Regions from separate parts of the Homo sapiens genome. Here region 1 is linked to region 2. Evidence: promoter capture Hi-C in human tissues and cell types (Jung and others, 2019). All regions are on one chromosome and are shown on one strand. Each heading gives the region's core, a stretch centred on a gene start or on the middle of the fragment in contact. The rest is flanking DNA. Distances are from core to core; before and after follow the strand shown.

Evidence for each region. Contacts are between HindIII fragments. The study calls those that stand out against the background at their distance.
Region 1: a fragment that was not itself captured here is called in contact with the fragment with the promoter of RAB18 in region 2 in 1 of the 25 tissues and cell types used here (dorsolateral prefrontal cortex).

Annotation. Positions count from the first base shown.
Region 1 is chr10:28,173,787-28,177,926 of GRCh38, reverse strand. The region is part of intron 3 of MPP7 (MAGUK p55 scaffold protein 7); the gene reads left to right. Among named protein-coding and RNA genes, the nearest start is that of SNORD130, 100 kb to the right of the region's middle. The HindIII fragment of the contact is 6,242 bases long and covers 1-4,140 here.
Region 2 is chr10:27,502,493-27,506,743 of GRCh38, reverse strand. RAB18 (RAB18, member RAS oncogene family) reads right to left here and starts at 2,440. Exons shown (of 7, transcript NM_021252.5): 1 at 2,307-2,440. The coding sequence starts at 2,374. LOC124902399 (a long non-coding RNA gene) reads right to left here and starts at 2,299. Exons shown (of 2, transcript XR_007062097.1): 1 at 2,020-2,299; 2 at 1,652-1,765. RefSeq lists enhancers at 2,305-2,364, 2,475-2,744. The HindIII fragment of the contact is 16,305 bases long and covers 1-4,251 here.

The sequences.
Region 1 (4,140 bases), core at 1,330-3,829, 670 kb before region 2:
GGCTGCTTGACATTCTGGATCAGCCAAGGGAAAGGAGCCCCTCACAGTATTTAGGGTTTCAGCACCTGCATGCCTGGCATCCCTGATCCGCCAGCATGACAGTGTTCCCTGGGTCAAATTGTCTCTTTTAAACAATTCCCCACTTTGTCTGGTTCTATGCGGTGGCTTCCTTTTTCTAAAAATTTTTGAACTCTCTAGTCTTCTGTCTCATTTCTGTTATTTTTAATTTGAAAAATCATCTTAGTGCAACTTAGGATAGAGAAGAGATCCGTATCTTTAATCACTAAACTTTGTAATCATAATTTTTAGTGGCATTATTGTAATCCATCAACCGCTTATGCTATGGTTTATTTAATCATTTTCTTATCATTGTACAGAACAATTTTTCCTTATCAATTCTTAGGTTATTTTGAAATACAGCTTATATAGGAACAATTAATCTACGAATTTTCACAATGTTGTTTTGGTGCCCTTGCACCCTCCAAAAGTGAATCAGTAAGAACTCTTTTTTTTTTTTTTGAAATGGAGTCTCACTGCGTTGCCCAGGCTGGAGTGCAGTGGCGTGATCTTGGCTCACCACAACCTCTGCCTCCTTGTTTCAAGTGATTCTCCTGCCTCAGCCGCGCCACCATGCCTGGCTAATTTTTTTTTTTTTTTTTTTTTTTTGCATTTTTAGTAGAGTTGGGGTTTCACTATGTTGGCCAGGCTGGTCTCGAACTCATGACCTCATGATCTGCCTGCTTGGCCTCCCAAAGTGCTGGGATTACAGGCGTGAGCCACTGCGCCCGGCCAGAACTCTTTTTACTATCGGTATGAATACAAAGATTTTTGTATATTTGATGAGTTTTAGTCCACTGCAATTATTCTTGTTTTTTTCTTTTCTTTCTTTTTTTTTTTTAAATTATACTTTAAGTTCTAGGGTACATGTGCACAATGTGCAGGTTTGTTACGTATGTATACATGTGCCATGTTGGTGTGCTGCACCCATTAACTCATCATTTACATTAGATATATCTCCTAATGCTATCCCTCCCCCACCCCCCCACCCCACGACAGGCTCCGCTGTGTGATGTTCCCCGTCCTGTGTCCAAGTGTTCTCATTGTTCAATTCCCACCTATGAGTGAGAACATGTGGTGTTTGGTTTTCTATCCTTGCGAAAGTTTGCTCAGAATGATGGTTTCTTTTTTTTTAGACAGAGTCTTGCTCTGTTGCTCAGGCTGGAGTGCAGTTGCACAATCTCAGCTCACTGCAACCTTTGCCTCCTGAGTTCCAGCAATTCTCCTGCCTCAGCCTCCCTAGTAGCTGGGATTACAGGCATGTGCCATGACACCTGGCTAATTTTTTATTTTTATTTTTAATAGAGATGGGTTTCACCATGTTGGTCAGGCTGGTCTCAAACTCCTGGCCTTGTGATCCACCCACCTCAGCCTCCCAAAGTGCTGGGGATACAGGCGTGAGCCACCATGCCCAGCCAGTGCAATTATTATTCTTTTTGATGCTAAAATGACCCCAGCTTTGGCCATTGGGAGTGCCTTCAAGTTGACTCCTGTGTTTTGTTTTGTTTTGTTTTGTTTTGTTTTGTTTTTGACCCAACTGCACTGGGCTTTGATTGCTTCTTTGCTTTTTGGCCTGACAGGGTCTCTCAGGCTTATTTTACACATTTCCTGCCCCTGTATATTTTAAGGTAGATTTCTAGAATTGAGAATTGCAGTGATGCAATCTCAGCTCACTGCACCCTCTGCCCCCTGGGTTCAAGTGATTCTCAATTCTAGAATCTCTTGTTAAATACTGTATTGGTTCCTAACAGTGACCAATAGGAATTCCTTTACCCTGCTCTTCCCAACTTCTAATTTAAACTACTATATACTTTTTTAAAACTCCCAATTAAAGGTAATCAATGAACTTATTTACTTTACATATATTATTTCCCTTCTCTTCCTAATTTTTGGTAGTTGTATTTGACCTGCATTGCTAGATTCTAAAAAAGCTGCATTCTACTTTTTACTCTGCCCCATTGTTTAACTTTAGTTAAATACAGTATATTGATGGTAACTATCATTTCTTATCCAAAAGCTTCTCTGATTATTTCAGAAATTCATCCCCTAGTTGCTCTCCCATGGAGAGGGCTCAGGGAGCAATTTTCCCTGAGCTCTTACAAGTTTTTCTTGTGGTCTTTACATTAATAGTTGAAGATCAGTTTGTCTAAAGTTAAAATCCTTGGTTCATAGCTTCTTGTTTTGAATATCTTAAGTATCATACTTCTTCAGCTTCTGGTATAAAGTGTTCGTAAGTATGGTGTCAATATAACTTTCTTTCCTTTATAAGTGTTTTTGTCTTGATGTTTAAAGAATGTTTTTTAAAATTTCTGATTCTTAAAAAATATTTCTCAGTGTTGACTGTTTAGTATCAGTTTTCCCAGATATTCAGTATGTTCTTTTAATCATGTATGTTCACATACTTTTATTTCATGGCATTTTAAAAAAATTCCTGCAGAACCCCAAAATGTACCCTCCTCTCCCCCATCTTCTTGCTCCTTTACTTCAAACTCTACTTCCTAAGTAAATCACTCGGCTCACTTTAAAGTTTATGGGTGGTTTGCCTGTTCTTGGAAGTTTCTTTTTTTCCTTTTTTTTTTTGAGACGACATCTCACTCTGTTACCCAGGCTGGAGTGCAATGATGCAATCTCAGCTCACTGCACCCTCTGCCCCCTGGGTTCAAGTGATTCTCATGCCTCAGACTCCCAGGTAGCTGGGACTATAGGTGCGCATCACCACGCCCAACTGATTTATGGATTTTTAGTAGAGATGGGGTTTTGCCATGTAAACCAGGCTGGTCTCAAACTCCTGACCTCAAGTGATCCGCCCACCTCGGCCTCCCAAAGTGCTGGGATGGCATGAGCCACCATGCTCAGCCATGTTCTTGGAAGTTTCTTTAAATGGAACCATGCAGGATGTATTTTGTTTGTGTCTTTCTTCTCTTGCTCAAATTATATGATTCATTTATGTTGTTACTAGATTAATTCATTTTTGTTACCAAACAGTATTCTATTCTGTAAGCATAGAACAATTTATCTATTCAACTGTCGATGGACATTTTTACCATTTCTGATTTTTGACCACTTTGGTAATGCCACTGCTGTTAGCAGTCCTGTACAGGTCTTTGCCTGAATGTGTATGTGTTTCTGTTGGGTATATACTAAGGAATGGAAATGTTGGGAAATAGGATTTTCATTCAACTCTTTGTATATGTATTTTCTTAAGGTATGATGTAAGAATGGAGTTGCGGGGTATCTTTGTTTTGTGTTGCTACAAAGGAATAGTCGAGGGTGAGTAATTTATAAAGAAAAATTTGTTTGGCTCACAGTTCTGCAGACCGTACAAGAAGCATGGTGCCAACATCTGCTCTTGATGAGGGTCTCAGGACGCTTCCACTTTCAGTGGAAGGCAAAGCGGAGCTGGCATATGCGTGTCCTATGGTGAGAGAAGGAGCAAGAAAGAGAGAGGAGAGGTGTCAGGCTCCTTTCATTAACCAGCTTTCATGGGAGCTAAGAGTGAGAACTCACTCTCTAGAGAATGGCACCAACCATTCACGAGGGATCTGTCCGCATGACCCACACACCTCCCAACAGGCCCCACCTCCAACATTTCAACATGAGACTTAGTGGGGCCAAAAGGCTCCCCATATCCAAACCATAGCACTGGGTAATTGGGTATTGTTGCGGTTTGTATTGCCACGATCAGTGTATGACAGTCGTTGCTGTTCCACACACACATTCTTGCTAGCCCTTGGTATGGTGGGGCTTGTCTTTGCTTTTTGTTTTTGAAGCCACTTTGGGGGCTGTAGTGGTATCTCATTGGTTTTAAATTTGGATCCCCAGATGACTAATGAGGTTGAGTACTTCTTCATATGTTTCGTATGGGACTGTTTCTGGACCGTCTGCTCTTTTCTGTTGTTCTGTCGCTATGTCAGTACCACAGTGTCTTATTTGCAGAAAAATCTGTTGGCATTTTGATGATTATTGCATTGAATTCATAGTTTAATTTGGTGAGAATGAATATCTTTACAATACTGAGTCTTATAATTCACAAGTGTGGTGACTCTTTCTATTTAGTTAGGTTTTCAGTTTCTCCCAGTAACA
Region 2 (4,251 bases), core at 1,191-3,690:
CCTTGTGTCTGTAATCCCAGCACTTTAGGAGTATGAGGCAGGAGTTTGGCTTGAGCCTGTGTGTTGGAGACCACCTGGGCAACATAGGAAAATCCCATCTATGAAAAAAATTTTAGAAGTAGGGCCGGTTGTGGTGGCTCATGCTTATGTTCCTAGCACTTTGGGAGGTCAAGGCAGGAGGATCTGTTGAGCTCAGGAGTTCGAGACAGCCTGGGCAACACAGTGAGTCCTCCTCTCTATAAAAAATAAAAAAACACTAGTCAGACATGGTGACTCGTGCCTATAGTCCAGCTACTCAAAAGGCTGAGGTGGGAGGATCACTTGAGCCCAGGAGATTGAGACTGCAGTGAGCTATGATCATGCCACTGCACTCCAGTCTGGGTGACAGAATAAGACCCTGTCTCAAAAAAACAGCGGGTAGAGCAGAGGAATTTTGTTTATATACTCCAGTTAACCTTCCAGAAAATTTTAACATACCCTAACTTGTCATCCATGCAATACATTTAGAAAAAGTGCTAACCAACCATGTATTGGGTTGAACTACATGAAATGACAACCAACCATTCTTGACTTCAAAAACACTAATTTCATATGCCTGAACTTAAATGAGAACGATATCTCAAGGAAAAAAGGAGAAAAGAAAAAGAAAGATCACAAGGCTGTGAAATTCCTATTAAGACAACGTTTAACTTTTTAACACTCAAATATGTATGTGCAATAATAGATGATCATGTAAATAATTTTACTCATGCCTTTTACACACACACAGACAAATCATGCTGGTTTGCTAACTCATAGTATTTCATTATTCTATTCCTTGGTATGTGCAAATCCTTCATTCCAGTAGACACAGAGGACATTACATGAGGAACACTATGAAAATGTGTTGTCAAACTGGTGGCTCACGCCTGTAATCCTAGCACTTTGGGAGGCCGAGGTGGGCGGGTCACGAGGTCAAAAGATGGAGACCATCCTGGCCAACATGGTGAAACCCCATCTCTACTAACAGTACAAAAGTTAGCTGGGCATGATAGTGCGCGCCTGTAGTCCCAGCTACTCGGGAGGCTGAAGCAGGAGAATCGCTTGAACCCGGGAGGCGGAGGTTGCAGTGACCCGAGATCGCGCCACTGCACTCCAGCCTGGCAACAGAGCGAGACTCCGTCTCAAAAAATAAATAAATAAATAAGTAAATAATATCAGAATATATTACATAAGCTTTCAAATTCTGAAGAAGCTTTTAAAAAGTAAGACTTTATGAAGTGACTTTTACAAGTTATTTGAGGAGAGCTTTCATTCTAGTTTGTAGAATTAAGGCTATTTCAATTTATGAAATACAAAAAATTATTTGAAAGATACGTGTATCAGAAGGTATAGCTAAAATATGAAACTGATTACAGCCCCTGGAGTGCAAATGTGGTTTAAGGATCAGGACGGCCTTGAACATAACCTACTCATAATCAGATGGCAAGAATGACATCAGCTGGAGAACTCTCTTCCAAGACCTGGATGAAATCACAGCCCTCTAGCAACATCCACCTAGATCCATGTCTTACCTTATACTCAACTCCACTGTCAATATTATTTTCCCCAAGGAAAAAGTAAAAAATGAAAGCACAACACTAATCTTCTGTCTCCACAGGATGTGGCAAAATGAGAAATAACAATTACATTTTATTTTCAAAGGTGGCCCACGGCTGAAGCACTCGGACCTTACACTAAAGCGAAATTTTCCAGCAGTCACAAGATCCAGTTCTTTCACAGCCGACTAATAAAAAAGTAAAAGAATCGACATTAAGCTGCGCCCAAACAGGCCAGGAATGGGACCTAAGGCGTCACGAAACTTCCCGAGGACATTATGTATTTAGAGAAGGCCCCACAGAAACCCTCAAGTGGGAAAGCTATGTCTCCCGGGTCTCGGGGTGGCAGGCAGCCTGAACCCCGAGAGGTTCGAGGCAAGGCGCCCCCGGCCGGATTCGGGCCCAAACCAGCCCGCCACGCCCTGAGCTCCGCGCAGCAAACCTGCCGGCCGAGCGGCGGCCCTCGGAATGGTGTTTTCTCGGCGCTACAGGAGGGAGAGCGACCCAGAGAACTTGGGCCTGGCAAAGGCCGGGAACCAGGCAGGCGCGGGTGGGGAGAGGAAAGCAAACGTCGCGGGAGAGCGCGGCCCAGAGGCCGAGGAGGGCGCGAGCGGAGCCGGCCCGAGCCCGCCGCTGCAGTTTACAGTTCCCGTCGCGGCCCAGGAGACAGCAGCCACCGGGGCAGAAAGAGCCCAGCCACCCTCGTCACGACCCGCACCTCCGCCTCACCTGGACTTGCCCACCCCACTCTCGCCGATGATGAGGATCTTCAGGGTGGTTAGCACGTCCTCGTCCATCCTGACCCCGTTCCGCTCCGAGCCCAGCTGGCCGCCCGGGTGCGCCTCTCAGCCCTTCAGCAGAGTGAGCTGCTGCGCATGCGCGCCGCTCCACGTCTGCCACCTTCCTTTCACACCGGGTGTTCAGGCTGCCGAAGCCCTGGACTCCCCAGTTCCGCCTTGAGGTAGCTCCACGGCTGCGCGACCCAGAATCCCCGGCGTTTTTCCGGACTGCGTGTTCCTCCCCTGCGCAAGCGCAGGTGGGGAGCGCTGTGTGTGACTTTGTTGGCTTCTTCTTGAGGTCTAGCTCCGCCCCAGCCTCAACCTAACCCTCCTTTTGAGTCAGTGGGAGGACTCAGTCAGGAGAATATCAAGCTGTTTTATTTCGGCAGCTGCTCATAACAGCTGCACTGCGGTGGGAAAAGCACTGTGCTTGAAGCAGATTATCTTAAATTTAGGTCCAGCTCTACCTTATAACTGCCTTGTCATACTACCCAGCTTTCTTAGCCTTTCTCCATCTCTGAGAGACACAGTAACACTTCTTAGAACATCTGCTTCTTATTGTTATGAAGGTTAAGTGAGTTAATTTGTGAAGACATGTTGTTAACCAAAGTGCTCTATAAAAGGTGTGATCAGGTATTATCTTGCTGGCTTCCCCTCTGTTATAGTGGAGAGCACCCTCTGCACCCTAATTCATCTTGAAAGGGAGGCGTAGACTTCAGGTAGGTCAGGTGCATTACTTCTGGCGGTGCAACTTCAAGTCAACTCTCCTTCCTCATAAGAACTGCTACACCCATACTGCAGGAAGTGTATGTCTACACCTTGCCTCCTGCATTAAGTTGTAAATCTTAGTGAAGGTACCAAACCTCATTCATAATACTTAGCACAGTGCCTGGTACATGGCAGGCACTCAATAAACCTCAGTTCTCTTGTCTTATTTCCTTATACCTGCAGCTAATGTCATATACAATGGATATTTGATTAAAGACTACATATAAATAAAATTTCAAATGTTAAGAAATTAATTTGTTAAATAGCTGGAAAAGCCCTTTCAAAAGATATCCCAATGGCTTCTCCTCCTTCAGGTCTTCGCTCAAATGTTGCATTCTTAAAGAGGCCTTCCCTGTCCATTCTACTGAAATATGCAAATCCCTCCAGCATTCTCTAGACCTCTTTACATTGTTTTTCTGCATAGGATTTAACCACTCTCTGATACACTATATATTTTACTACTTTATTAGAAGTCTCATGAAGGCAAGGATATTTTGTTTTGTCTACTGGTATGTCTTCAGTATCTAGAGTACTTCATGGCACATAATATGTGCTAAATAAATGTATGCTGAATGAATTAATTGAATGAATGTTGTAGAGTCCATTCCTAACCTTAGAGAATAATGTCAATGAAACAACCTCCACTTCTCATCAGATAGCCCTTGAAACTTCAGTCAAGTCTATCTAGCTTACTTTTCATTATGACAAAAAGATCTTATTTATGAGGTTCACAGTATTGTCAAGCTCTCCTGCCCTGGGGTCCCGAGATCCCTAGAAATCCCTGAAAACCTTTCAGGGGGGTTGCAAGATCAAACTATTTTCATAGTTAATATGTTATTTTTTCATGCACATTCTCTGATGATAATATAATGGAGTTTTCCAGAGGCTATATATTAATAACATGTAATAGCAAAACAGATTGAAGGCAGAACAAGATATGTGAACTTACTGGTTTTCTATGATATTAAGCCAGATATTAAAGGGATTTCCTAAAATGTAAAACATTGCCACTGTTCTCAATTTTGTTCTGTTTTAAAGTAGTTATTTTCATAAACATTTCTATTAACTGGTAATAGGTTTATTATTGTTTTTAAGTAAATTAACATGTTTGAAATTTTCTCAGTTTT